2 separate regions of the Homo sapiens genome follow, and region 2 is linked to region 1. The links are contacts of gene promoters, found by promoter capture Hi-C in human tissues and cell types (Jung and others, 2019). All regions are on one chromosome and are shown on one strand. The core of a region is centred on a gene start or on the middle of the fragment in contact, and the rest is flanking DNA. Distances in the headings are between cores, read along the strand shown. Region 1 holds the start of FOXA2 (forkhead box A2). Region 2 overlaps XRN2 (5'-3' exoribonuclease 2).

Region 1 (6,967 bases), core at 2,667-5,166:
GTGCCAAGTAGACAAATTTTGATGGTCTAATTTTTTTTTTTTTTTTTTTTTTGAGATTGAGTTTTGCTCTTGTTGCCCAGGCTGGAGTGCAATGGTGCGATCTCAGCTTACTGCAACCTCTGCCTCCCGGGTTCAAGCGATTCTCCTGCCTCAGCCCCCGAAGTAGCTGGGATTATAGGCATGGGCCACCACATCCTGTTAATTTCGTATTTTTAATAAAGATGGGTTTTCACCATGTTTGTCAGGCTGGTCTTGAACTCCTGACCTAAGGTGATCCGCCCGCCCCGGCCTCCCAAAGTGCTGGGATTACAGGCATGAGCCATTGCGCCTGGCTGATTTTTCAGTACATTTCAGAAATAATAACCCACCCAAAGAAAGTGAAATGTTGATTATAATCTTTGACACACGATATGCCTTTTCTTCATTGAGACTTGAGATTCATCCAGAGAATGAATAAGGGGTGTTTGGACATCTGCTTTTTTACCAATTAAAAAGTTTATAAGAAAGTAAAAATGCATACTTTCCCAAGACTGTGCTGTCACTTTTCCATCCCCTCTGCCTTCATCTTGCCTACATATCTGCCTTATGTTGCCCTAAACACGCTGGGGAACTTTGAGCAAGGCCTTGCCTGGGTATTTATTCTCTGAAAGGTTTTAGGAATTGGAGTATTAATGGGACTTTTATTGTTTTTCTCCTTAGGTATTTCATGGGTTCTCACTTAGGAAAATTGAGTTCTGTTCAATGATGCCCCTTCTGCACTGGTTGGTTTCATGTGACAAAGAGAGCTCTAGGGAGGACTTTTGCTAGGGGAACGCAGATTGTTCCAGCAAGATGAAGGCCTAGGAGACCTGGATGGCCTGGGTGTTTTCTTCCCAGGGAGAGCAGAGGAGGCCTGGATTTGAACTCGAGTCTTATGACTTTGCCATTGAGGCAACATCCAAAATAAAAATAGCATGCTAACCCCAAGCACAGTCCTCAGTTATAAAGCAGCTTTATTATAGAAGCCGGCGGTGACCTAACAAAATGGAAAGGGAAGGGCTCTGTAGGTCTCGGCCCTACATGAGGGTAGACTAAAGAGGGATTGGGAGAAACATCTGCAGCCCGAGGTCCCCGCGAACTTTTTCCTGGAGAGAAACTCCGGGAGCAATCTTCAGCATTCAAGCCTGAGCCAGAACTCTGGATAGCCCTTTAGAAATCAGAACTCCGGGAAGGAGGAGCTCCAAAGACCGCTGAGCTGGAAGGGAACGCGAACCCCAGGCTGTCTGAACGTCCCTGCTTCCTTCGCAGCCCGTTGGTGTCCCGCTCCCAGCTACCTAAAGCTAACCGTAGACCCCGCTCGCATTCCCATGGGCAGGCGTGCCGGGAGGGTGCGGGAGCGGCTGCTCCGAGACTCTAGGAGGCGTCATCCAGCCCTACCCTACCGGAGCTCCCAGAACCTCGCCAGGGTGCAGGAGGCCGTTTTGGGTTCGCGCAGAACCTAGGGGTTGGGGCTCCAAAAAGGCCGAGTCCCCCCGAAGGCGTTTTCGGAGAGACTGGGAGAGCGGGGGAGAAGGTGCTCCGGTGCCGGAGCTGCGGGGTTGGGATCGCGGGGGTAAATGAGGACTCGGGTCGGTCCCGCGGGCCTGGCGGCCGACAGGGGGCGCCCTGTCACTGTGGAAGCCCCCGCCGAGCGCTCTCTGGTGTCCCTGACCCCGGCCACCAATAGTGCTGTGGTGGAGGTGGGGGCTTCCAAAGTCCGCTCCTTGGAAGTGTAGCGCCCCCTTCTCCTGCGGCCCTCCAGCTCGCTCCTTCTGTTCCTGGAATAATTTCTGGGACCAAATTTCCACCCAGGAGCAAAATAGAAAGGGAAGTGGGCACCCACATAAGCTCACAAATACTCTCATACAGCACACGCACAGACTAGGTCAACCATAACATTCTTTTGAGTTTTGGGGGTGCGGTGTGTGTGTGTGTGCGTGTGTGTCTGCCCAGGCCTGCGGAGAAAGCTTTGAAAAATTGCTCATTCTTTGAGCTCCAATGCTTACTCCTCTTTCCCTGCCCTCGGTGGAGTGATGAAGTTGCTCCCATCCACGCGCTAGGTGGGACCCCGTGGGAAATGCTGGGGATCTAGCCCCTCTGACTCCGCTGCGCACACCTCCACGTTCACTACGTAGCCGTACACACCATCAAGCTCCTTCCCTGGCGCACCGGGCTGGCCTGCCCCTCGTGGGAGCCTTCAGCACTCGGGGGACCGATAGGCACGGCTTCCGCGGAGATACAGACCTTGAATTTGTGGGAGAATCCCGCCCTGGCGCTCACTCGGCGGGCTTATTAATGCCCTCTTTATGAAGTGTCCAAACCATCTGCATTTCAGCAGCAAAAGATGCTGCCGGCGGCTTCCTTCTGTGTCCCAAACCGTGCAGACCTGAGAGTCCTGGGGTTAGGGAAGTGGTTCCCCTGTGCCTACTGCTACCTCCTCGCTTGCCTTCCAGCCTCACCCTTACTCAAGCTTCAATGCGAAGCTCCGTGTCTGCCATCTCGCCTGTCTTCTGCCACCATCGCCCCCAATTTTGGACAGGTGGGCTGGATGCCCACTAGTTCCTATGCATTCTCTGTGTCTGAGGGGGTGGGTACAGGGCTGGATCCCCAAGGTCCAGCCAGGTTTTCAGAACCAAGAAAGAGCCTCCACATCCAAACACCTGCAATATCCCCCCACTCCAAATCTGGGCTCACAGGCTAACCCAGAACAGAAGACAATTTTTGAACCCAAGAGCTGCTGGGGAAATAAAAGTATACGATTGCTGGAGTTTCTAATTTCTATTAAGCAGTCCCTCTGGAAGACAGAGAGGACAGAGACGCTCTTGAAGTCAACTCCATATGCCCCATCATTGATTCCTGGATTCTTCTCTCCTCACCCCTCCCTCCCCACCTCCTGCCCTGTTTGTTTTAGTTACGAAATGCTGTGGGCACCTCGGTTGTGACTGAAAAGTAACCTTGAAACACGCCGGCCTGAATATCAGAGACAAATCTCAGCCTCCCAACCGTCGGCCGCTGCTAGAGGGGCTGCTTGCGCCAGGCGCCGGCCGCCCCACTGCGGGTCCCTGGCGGCCGGTGTCTGAGGAGTCGGAGAGCCGAGGCGGCCAGACCGTGCGCCCCGCGCTTCTCCCGAGGCCGTTCCGGGTCTGAACTGTAACAGGGAGGGGCCTCGCAGGAGCAGCAGCGGGCGAGTTAAAGGTGTGTACGTAGTTTTTCTAAATAGGACAGCGCTTTGCAAATTGGCTGTCATGGACTTGCTGTTTTGACAGAGAATGAGCACTGAGAGCGAAGAAACCCGGCATAAATAAATCCGGCTTTCATAGGGATCTGCCGGGCACTGAGGCTGGACGCGCCCTCCGACAGGCGCACCGGGCGCCCGGCGCGATGAGACGGGGCGGGGGCTGGAGGCCGGAGCCGCCCCAGAGGGTGGTTTCCTCCCAGGTCCCTCCTTCCTCAGGGGACTCGCTGTGGACCCGGGAGGAAAGGGGGCTCGACCAGGGATCCCGCGTGCCCGATCGCCCGCCCAGCCCGCTCCCCTGGCCCGCCCAGGAGTGCGGGGCGCCGCGGCGGTGGGGCGGACGGCAGGCGCTGAGGGGCAGGTGCGGAGCGCCGGCTGCGGCTACCTCTCACCTAGGTGTGAGCTGATTATTCAAATGGGCTGCCCCGGGTCTGGGGATTGGAGGCCCGCGCCAGCGCGCCGCGCTATATCACCAGCCTCCCACGTCACTGCGGCACTTGTCCGCTCCGCGGTCCACACCTCCTCCTCCTCCTCCTCCTCCTCCTCCTCCTCCTCCTCCTCCACCACCACCACCGCCTCCTCCTCCTCCTTCCTCCTCCTCCTCCCCACCCCCCCACTAGCCCCCGCGCCGCGCGCTTCCCGCCGCCTCGGGGCAGCTCGGCACTGCCAACCTCAGCCGCCACCCGGCAGCCCGTGAGCGCGGCGGCGGCGGGTGCTCCCTACCGCGGGGCGCTGGCCTGGGCCTCCTCCGCTCCTCGCCCCCCCCCACCTCCCGCCCACTTCCAACTACCGCCTCCGGCCTGCCCAGGGAGAGAGAGGGAGTGGAGCCCAGGGAGAGGGAGCGCGAGAGAGGGAGGGAGGAGGGGACGGTGCTTTGGCTGACTTTTTTTTAAAAGAGGGTGGGGGTGGGGGGTGATTGCTGGTCGTTTGTTGTGGCTGTTAAATTTTAAACTGCCATGCACTCGGCTTCCAGTATGCTGGGAGCGGTGAAGATGGAAGGGCACGAGCCGTCCGACTGGAGCAGCTACTATGCAGAGCCCGAGGTAAGCGCTCGTCTTTTCCAGGGGGAAGTGGAGCGGCGGCGCTCGCTCCTTCCCCAACCTCAGGACCGCTTCCCTCGCTGGCACCCCCCCACCCCGCCCCACAACCCCAGCCTTTCTGGGCAGCCGCCTTTTCCGCCCTCCTTGGAATCAAATGGGTCTCTTTTTTATACGACACACTGTTAGCCTTGAGATAATATTAACTTTGTGATCAAATATTGACTTGCGGCGCCTCCAAATCCTCTTCGTGGCCGAGCCACGCACTATCCTAACAGAGTTATGTTTGGCAGCGCGCGGCTGGGGAGGGGTGGGAGGTCGGCCGGCGAGGGGGTGGGGAGCTGAGGAGGAGAAGATGGGTAGGAGTTGGGGGCTGAAGTGGAGGCAGAGTCAAAGACTAGTGGACAAAGAGAAAGAAAGTTTTTGCCTGCAAAGCTCAGCCGCGTGTGGTTCAGGTCTCGGTTCTTTCCCTATTGCCCCGTTCAGTGCCTCCAGCCGCCCCCGCACTCCGCACAGGCACTGCCTTGCAGTTTCCCTGGGACAAGGGAGGGGGTCCCTGGAGGGAGACCGGACAGAGGGGGCCCGGGACAGTCTTCGCTGGAGGCAGCCCGAGGCGCCCCGCGCGTTGTCCCGCAGGTTGCTTGCTGCGACCGGAGGTGGCGTCCGGGGACTTCGGGCCTCGGCGCCAGCTCAGTATGCTGGTGGGAGAGTTTGGGGAGACTCTGGGGTAGGGGAATGTATTTGGGGTGCTGGCTTGGGAGTACTCCATGGGACCCCTGTTCTAGAATCTGGGCGAGGTGGAGAAGGGCTAGGAACGGGCCACATGCCCAAGCAGCAATCCGCTCGCCACCTTCCCAAGGGCGATCGATCATGACTCTCCCTGAATGAAACAGACTCGGAGTCCGGAGACTGGGCCATCGGGGACGAAAGGGCTCCCCGGAGGCCTCCCCGGACGCGGAGGCCTGGGCGGTGGGTGGGAGGTCTGGGCACCCTCCAGCCGCGGTGCTAACGCTGTCGCCTCCCTCCCGGGGCTCTGTCCGCAGGGCTACTCCTCCGTGAGCAACATGAACGCCGGCCTGGGGATGAACGGCATGAACACGTACATGAGCATGTCGGCGGCCGCCATGGGCAGCGGCTCGGGCAACATGAGCGCGGGCTCCATGAACATGTCGTCGTACGTGGGCGCTGGCATGAGCCCGTCCCTGGCGGGGATGTCCCCCGGCGCGGGCGCCATGGCGGGCATGGGCGGCTCGGCCGGGGCGGCCGGCGTGGCGGGCATGGGGCCGCACTTGAGTCCCAGCCTGAGCCCGCTCGGGGGGCAGGCGGCCGGGGCCATGGGCGGCCTGGCCCCCTACGCCAACATGAACTCCATGAGCCCCATGTACGGGCAGGCGGGCCTGAGCCGCGCCCGCGACCCCAAGACCTACAGGCGCAGCTACACGCACGCAAAGCCGCCCTACTCGTACATCTCGCTCATCACCATGGCCATCCAGCAGAGCCCCAACAAGATGCTGACGCTGAGCGAGATCTACCAGTGGATCATGGACCTCTTCCCCTTCTACCGGCAGAACCAGCAGCGCTGGCAGAACTCCATCCGCCACTCGCTCTCCTTCAACGACTGTTTCCTGAAGGTGCCCCGCTCGCCCGACAAGCCCGGCAAGGGCTCCTTCTGGACCCTGCACCCTGACTCGGGCAACATGTTCGAGAACGGCTGCTACCTGCGCCGCCAGAAGCGCTTCAAGTGCGAGAAGCAGCTGGCGCTGAAGGAGGCCGCAGGCGCCGCCGGCAGCGGCAAGAAGGCGGCCGCCGGAGCCCAGGCCTCACAGGCTCAACTCGGGGAGGCCGCCGGGCCGGCCTCCGAGACTCCGGCGGGCACCGAGTCGCCTCACTCGAGCGCCTCCCCGTGCCAGGAGCACAAGCGAGGGGGCCTGGGAGAGCTGAAGGGGACGCCGGCTGCGGCGCTGAGCCCCCCAGAGCCGGCGCCCTCTCCCGGGCAGCAGCAGCAGGCCGCGGCCCACCTGCTGGGCCCGCCCCACCACCCGGGCCTGCCGCCTGAGGCCCACCTGAAGCCGGAACACCACTACGCCTTCAACCACCCGTTCTCCATCAACAACCTCATGTCCTCGGAGCAGCAGCACCACCACAGCCACCACCACCACCAACCCCACAAAATGGACCTCAAGGCCTACGAACAGGTGATGCACTACCCCGGCTACGGTTCCCCCATGCCTGGCAGCTTGGCCATGGGCCCGGTCACGAACAAAACGGGCCTGGACGCCTCGCCCCTGGCCGCAGATACCTCCTACTACCAGGGGGTGTACTCCCGGCCCATTATGAACTCCTCTTAAGAAGACGACGGCTTCAGGCCCGGCTAACTCTGGCACCCCGGATCGAGGACAAGTGAGAGAGCAAGTGGGGGTCGAGACTTTGGGGAGACGGTGTTGCAGAGACGCAAGGGAGAAGAAATCCATAACACCCCCACCCCAACACCCCCAAGACAGCAGTCTTCTTCACCCGCTGCAGCCGTTCCGTCCCAAACAGAGGGCCACACAGATACCCCACGTTCTATATAAGGAGGAAAACGGGAAAGAATATAAAGTTAAAAAAAAGCCTCCGGTTTCCACTACTGTGTAGACTCCTGCTTCTTCAAGCACCTGCAGATTCTGATTTTTTTGTT
Region 2 (6,789 bases), core at 2,708-5,207, 1.2 Mb after region 1:
GAGGCCGAGGCAGGCAGATCACTTCAGCCCAGGAGTTTGAGACCAGCCTAGGCAACATGGGAAAACCCCGTCTCTACTAAAAATACAAAAATCAGCCAGGCATGGTGGTGTGGGAGCCTGTAGTCCCAGCTACTTGGAAGGCTGAAGCATCAGAATCACTTGAACCTGGATGGCAGAAGCTGCAGTGAGCCAAGATCATGACATTACACTCCAGCCTGGGTGACAGAGTGAGACCTTGTCTCAATCAATAAATCAATAAAAGAAGTTAATAAATAAGGCAACTTATTTGAGCCATTTGGCATCGTAGATAGCAACAATTTTTTTAAGTTTCCAAATTGTTTTGGAAAGTTACTGGAGATGTGAACTACTACCAATTTGAATATTTTAAATGTATGCATATGGTAAAATCGGAGTTTTATTTAAAAGATTTTTCATGATTGAGCTTAACACTCATAGGTAAAAAACTAAATGGCTGCCTTGCAAATGACTGAAAAAGAGGCCTCCATTGACAAGAAGAACCCAAACAATGTGGCAAAACTCAAGTGACAAAGGGAACTCCAATGCTGGGTATCTATTAACTCTAGGCTGTGTCTGTGTTGGGAGGATGTTCCTGTTGTATTTTTAAATCTACTGGATATATGGATTATACATACCATCTTAAAGTAGGAAATTATTCAAGAAATGCAATGTAATAAAAAAAAGACACTCAAAATTCTCTTAATAGGATTCTCAACAAACAGTAGCGTCGTGGAAACATACTGAACTAAGAACTGGTAAAACCTGGTTCTGGAACAAAATGGTATCTTTCTTAAATGTCTGTGATGTAAGACTTTTATGATAGAACTCTATTATGCTCACATTTACCTTTTGCTTTCAGGCATAATTTTAAGTATCTGACTAAAACTAAACCAAAAAACATTCCCACAAAACTTGTCACTAACCTGCTGGGTTCACAAAGTCAGAATAATACTAGTACTTGGCTAGGGTAGAATAAGAACAAAACCTGATGGACAGCAGGGTAAGGGAAGGGACAATGATGATGATCTTAGGAAAACTTTTAATGTGAACAGAGGGGAGGAAAGCTGTTGGGGCCTTAGAAGTGGAAACAGATCCTTTACTTCCTTTGAAGTCCCTACGTCTTTATATTACGCTCAGAGTAAATATTCTGGTAAGTTTTGTTCCAGTGAAAAGTTTCTTGGTAAAGAATGGCACAAAAGAGTGACCTTAGGTAAGCTGCTGAACTTCTCTGTGCCTCACTTTCTTCATTTGCAAAAATGTAAACATAACAGCATCTATTTCAATGCACTGCTAGGAGGAATAAATGAAATCATTCTTATTAAAGGATGTTAACACAGTGTTAACACTTTGTAAGCAGACAAACATTTGCCATTATTATTAGTATGGAAAGTGAGCAATAAGATAGAGAAACCAAGTATATAATTTAGGAAAAATTTACCCCTTACTTACTTAATTTCTGCTTAAAATTTGTGGTACTGAGGAAAATGAAACAGCACATACTGTGTGCTTTCAGAACATATACTAAAATCAAAACATTAATACACACATTGCTAGTCGTATTGCATTTAATGAGACTTGCACTAAGTTGACACTATTAGTAAACATCGAATAACATGATTCCTTTTATCCTCTTGAAGATAACAATGAAATAAAGTTCTGGAGTCTCTAAAGAGTTATAAAGTTTTCTTAAAAGGGAAGCTGCATTTAGAATCCCATTTATAAAAACACTATTCATTTCAGATGTGAACAGATTAGAGACTGTAAACATGGCAGAGGAGAAGAGAATAAAACAGATTAAAACTGGGAAGGCAAAAAAGAAAGCCTTATTATGATGGGGCTTAATTTGTTTTTGCATTTACTGATGTTGGCAAAACCATCATGAAATGATACATCTTAAAGCTGGCCTTTAAAAATTATTCTACAGATGTTAATTATTCATAATGTGCCTAGTTGTCTTGTCGTACAGAGTCCATCGGACTTAGGAGCACACAACTTATCAATGAAGGAATACATGTTAAACATCCCTTGTTATTAAACCATGTCACATTCTTCCTAGTCCATGGTACTTATTAGACTGCAGATCCCATAATCCTCTTCTGAGTCCCTTCTGCGTTTAATTCAGTTCAGTCTTAAGTAGTTAAAGAAACTGTTTTCAGTGGCAACTAATAACTACTGACCTACAGTGACACTGCCCTACAATAGGCTTGTCAGCCCTGAAAAAGTTGTACCAAAGAAGCTGATTAGGACTTCAAGAGGTTTGTAGCAAGAATCAATGGTTGGTCTGTACTAACGCTGCATTGCCCGCACAGAAATGATAAAAGTGGAACACCATTAGTTATGCCTCATTAAGCTGCACAACCCTTCTAAAAAGAAATTTGTTTAGCCTGACCAAAACCTAATACAGTTTTAAGCTGTGTTGCATTTTTCAGGGCATCTCAAAAGCATCAATAAAATAAAGGCCAAGAACCAAGAAAAGTAAGAAAGTATATTAAACATGAGTCTTTTAATTCAAAGTATTAGCTATATATTTTCTTAAAGGATAGGCACAAGGGAAATTGTTTTTGGTGGGAAAAAGTACATTTCAAACCACAGAGGTTTTAGCTTCCATAAAAACCATAAACCCCAAATGTTGGTGTCAGAAAGTATTTAAAAGTCATGTCTACTTTTAATATTACCTGTCAAACCTTTGCTGCTGGAAAAGGGGAGGAGGACCTCGCCAGGAATCCTGGGGCCTCATATCTGAAAAAGAAACAGGAAAGGGTTAAGAAGATTTTTAAAAGTAACCAATATTCAACTACCCAATATTTTATAATTAAAAGTTCTTGAAAAAAATCTGAGAAAGACTGTAAACCAAATAAACTAGTATCATAATAACACACACCACAAATGTAAAAAGGTAAGTAACTAACAAGGTCAGCAAATTTTTTATTATTTTTCCTTTGATAACAAAATAGGTTTAGTAACCCCTGGTCACTAAACTCACATAATCCTGTGTGTGTGTGTGTGTGTGTGTGTGTGTATGTGTGTGTAAGTAAAGATACATACATTACACACAGTTTTTACATTTATATTTTAAATGCTGTGGAAAAGGAAAGGTTTAGTTCTTTTCCATAAATAGAATTAATACAAACTGAATGAATAGTATCTACAACAGAAATCCTGAAATTTTCCTTCTGAAGGCATAAATTGCTTTCATTAACATTAAGCAGAGCACACACAATCTCTCCAACACAAACCAAGAAAACACATTAATGAAGGGACCACCCACTTCTCCATCTTTTCTGATAGTTTTCTTGTAACGCAAAGCTGAACTAGCAACATCATCTAACTAGAAGAAACAATTAAATGGCTCCTGCTCTTCTACATAAACTGACGGATATAGGATGAAAGAAACATCTGGGCCTGTCTATATCAGCGAACCACAGCTTGCAGTCACTTCACCTTCAGCGGGGTCTGCTGTGACCTAATTAAAACTGCTGGTTCCAGAAGTTGTCTAATGAGTTCACCATGTGAGGACAGTAACCTCCTCTAGACTCCCGAGACCAAGGACAACGCTTACCATAATGTATTCAGGCTCACATTTTAATAGAAACACAAACTAGAAAAATGCTTTTCAAAATTACTTAAAGAAAAGAAGAGTTGAAAGCTTATCTCTGGTTAGAAACCAAAAATATATATGGTTTTTACTTAAGAAAGAGAGAGAAAGAAAAAAGTAGAATCATGCTTTAAAAGCCCCATGACAAAGAACACGGAATCAATAAAATATCTAGCTGCTCACAATGATTCTAGCTCATAACTGGCAGCCTCAGCCCTGGCTTCCTTCCCATCTCGACATGCTGAGAAGGCCAGACTGAAGAAAGTTTTCCTTATGTGGACAAACTACCTGAAGGAGGGCAGCCATCTGCAGCTGCCACAGCCCACTCCCACATCAGTCCATGGCCAGCTGGAAAAGTTTCTGCAGCCATACCCATGGGTGCCAAACCCACCTCTCAGAAAGGTGCAGGAAGCCCTTCACCAGCTGTCACTTCCAGGCAGATTCCCATTGTGAATTAAAAGGTGGTATCTTTAGTCAATTGGAATTAAGTTCCTTTTTTATTTCTTAAAAACCAAACTACTAGCAGTCAAACCGAGTAACAATGTGGAGGATGCTGACTACTACACACTCCACAGAAAACAGAGGAAGACAGTTCCCCACCCTACGCCCAGAGTAAGTTCTGAGTCATTACTACAGACTATACACTATCAGAAAATCAATTTTCTGAAGAGATAAAAGTAAGAAGTTCTTACAATAATAGCAATCATTTCATTTGTATGGTTTATTTCTATGGGAAAACTTAAGATACATTTACATATATGAATTTCAATGAGTTACCATTTGTGAGAAAGTAATCTACTGAAAGTAAAATCAATGTTTGAGCCACTTTTTCAGCTCATGTACAAAATTAGTTTAGTGAGAATCAGTTAAAATGTTCCCAGAAGTATTTCATTTTAGTGCCCTTATATATACAAAATTTGCAAATGTAACAGAAGTCAAAAGAAATACAGCAAATATTCATCCGGACCCCTCTACTTCACATCCCCTGGAATCACTGCGGTTACCCTGGAAACATACCCCTTTTTACCATTAGGACTTAATTCCATATTGTGCTTGCCTGGTGTCTTTTTATGTATGGTATAATCGCAGGATACACATTCTCCATGGTACTTACGAAAGCTTCCACAGTGGCTCCCTAATAAATTTAAAATCGAATGAAGACAATACAAAGATACAGCTACATTAAGAGAAACCTTCAGAAACAATCTAATGTTTTAAGAAAAATAAAGATGGGAAAAAAACTTGTATATTTTGTCCTAGAAACTGTGCTAATGGAGATGAAGCCATCACCACCCATAATATATATTCATTAGACTCAAACATGCTATTCTTAGATTAAGCACAGCAGTATTTCTAAGTAGAACTGGAATGTAAAGTTTACTAAGTGTAAATGCTTTTTTTGGAGGAGGAAATAATTGTCTAACCTATACAACTAGTTGTCTAACCTATACAACTAGAAATGTCTTAAAAAACAGCAAACATTTCTAATATATCACTTCTAGTGTGCCAGGTGCCTCTCTATTTTCCATTTTCTATCTCTCACCTCCAGGACAATTTTCTTTTTCCATATAAACTCAGCACATACAAAAATTACAGTTTTTTGTTAAAACCTAAGCAAATTTTCCAAAACTTTCAATAAACTCTGATGCAACTGTTAAAACACTCCTTGTTTTCAATCCAAAAAGAAAAAAGGCTCAAAGAAATATTTCAAGGCTATTTTTAACCAAATTTCTTCATATGGCTCTTAGTAACATATATAACCTGGAAGTATTCATAAAGCAGAAGTATTTCCTGGCTGATCTGTAATGAAGTAGATGGTAAAACAAACTTATTATCATTCATTTGTATGGCTCTAACAGAAGACCCATTTGAGAGGAAGAAAAAAAATTCTGAGACAGTGAATTGCACTTCAGAAGGTACAGGCGAGAGTGGAAAATTTTTTCCTTTGGTCTTTAAAAACTTATCCCTTTTCTAGAGCTCTAAGGCCATGTAAACCAAGCTTCGCCAATAGCTTCTCAAGTGACAATTTACCTAATCAGCGTGGCAATCACAGAAAAGATTCCATGTTTACTGATAGCACTAGTCAAAAATCACTTTTCAACGTGGCTAATTGACAAGTTTACAGACTAAAATGAAGAGAAGTCACATTTAAGGTTCTCTGGGCTACAGAAACCAAATGCTTTATTCAGACTGAGTACTCAGGGCTACACTCGATTCCAACAAGTTATCAGTACTCAGACAATTACTCATCAGCCAAAACTGACACATCAAAGACAAATCAAACACCAACAATAAGAAATACCTACAGCAGACACTTGACAGTTGTCAGTTTGACCAAATGGCCCTTCTTGAGTGCAATTTCATACTACACGAAGAAAATGATTATGATACTAAAAATATTTTAGACTGAATAAATGGCTTAGAACTCAATCTTACTAAAACAAGCTATTTGACTAAATTTTAAAGTTCAAAATTCTATAAAAGGAAAGATGATCTTTTATCACTTAATACTTTCACAGTACTTATTATGTACAACGTACTATTTTAAGTGCTTAGCTACTTAAATTCATTTAGTCTGGTTATTTTGTCAGGTAAATATTCTTATCCTCTGTACTATTTTCGAGATGAGGAAACTGGGGCAATGACCAAACCTGTCAGAGGTCACAGAGTGAGGCCAGGGGCTATGTCCCCGTAACCACTCTCTACTACACTGTGCAATCTCAAAGTTTCACATTCATTTATGCTGTCGGTTGAGATGGCACTTCATGTTAATTTATTTCAGAAGACGCAGAGGAGAACCACCCATGATTTTGTGCTGCTTAATCAGGAGGCTCAGAAACTTACAGTTTCAACAAGACTGGATGGGGGGTTTAACAACTACTCTCAACATCTTAAAGGTTTACAACCGACATTATTACTCATATCCAATTAGGATAGGAAAGAAAAATAACACACATTTTAGTTGTAAGCATCTAGGCAAATACAGGATTTATAGGAAGAAAATAAGAAAACATCTTGGCTAAAACACTGGAATCTCTGCTCTTTTTAAAAGGATAATACTACCCCTCAAAATCTGGCACTTAAAATGTAAAGAGAAGGGATCAGATAAAAATCAGTATCAGCGGTTCCTGAAGCACAAACCAAAACCCAACATCACTTCAAAGAGATCAGCCGGT

What was found. The method cuts DNA at HindIII sites, captures the fragments that hold promoters and counts their contacts. A contact is called where the count stands out against the background at its distance.
Region 2: a fragment that was not itself captured here is called in contact with the fragment with the promoter of FOXA2 in region 1 in 1 of the 25 tissues and cell types used here (dorsolateral prefrontal cortex).

The regions. Positions count from the first base shown.
Region 1 is chr20:22,581,521-22,588,487 of GRCh38, reverse strand. FOXA2 (forkhead box A2) reads left to right here and starts at 3,916. Exons shown (of 2, transcript NM_021784.5): 1 at 3,916-4,296; 2 at 5,334-6,967. The coding sequence starts at 4,210. The coding sequence ends at 6,638. It overlaps LNCNEF (lncRNA neighboring enhancer of FOXA2), which reads left to right. Exons shown (of 3, transcript NR_109883.1): 3 at 700-966. RefSeq lists enhancers at 865-1,619, 1,620-2,375, 3,131-3,886, 5,311-5,883, 5,884-6,455. The HindIII fragment of the contact is 10,630 bases long and covers 2,238-6,967 here.
Region 2 is chr20:21,377,962-21,384,750 of GRCh38, reverse strand. It overlaps XRN2 (5'-3' exoribonuclease 2), which reads right to left. Exons shown (of 30, transcript NM_012255.5): 28 at 2,694-2,757. Among named protein-coding and RNA genes, the nearest start is that of NKX2-4, 16 kb to the left of the region's middle. The HindIII fragment of the contact is 5,408 bases long and covers 1,254-6,661 here.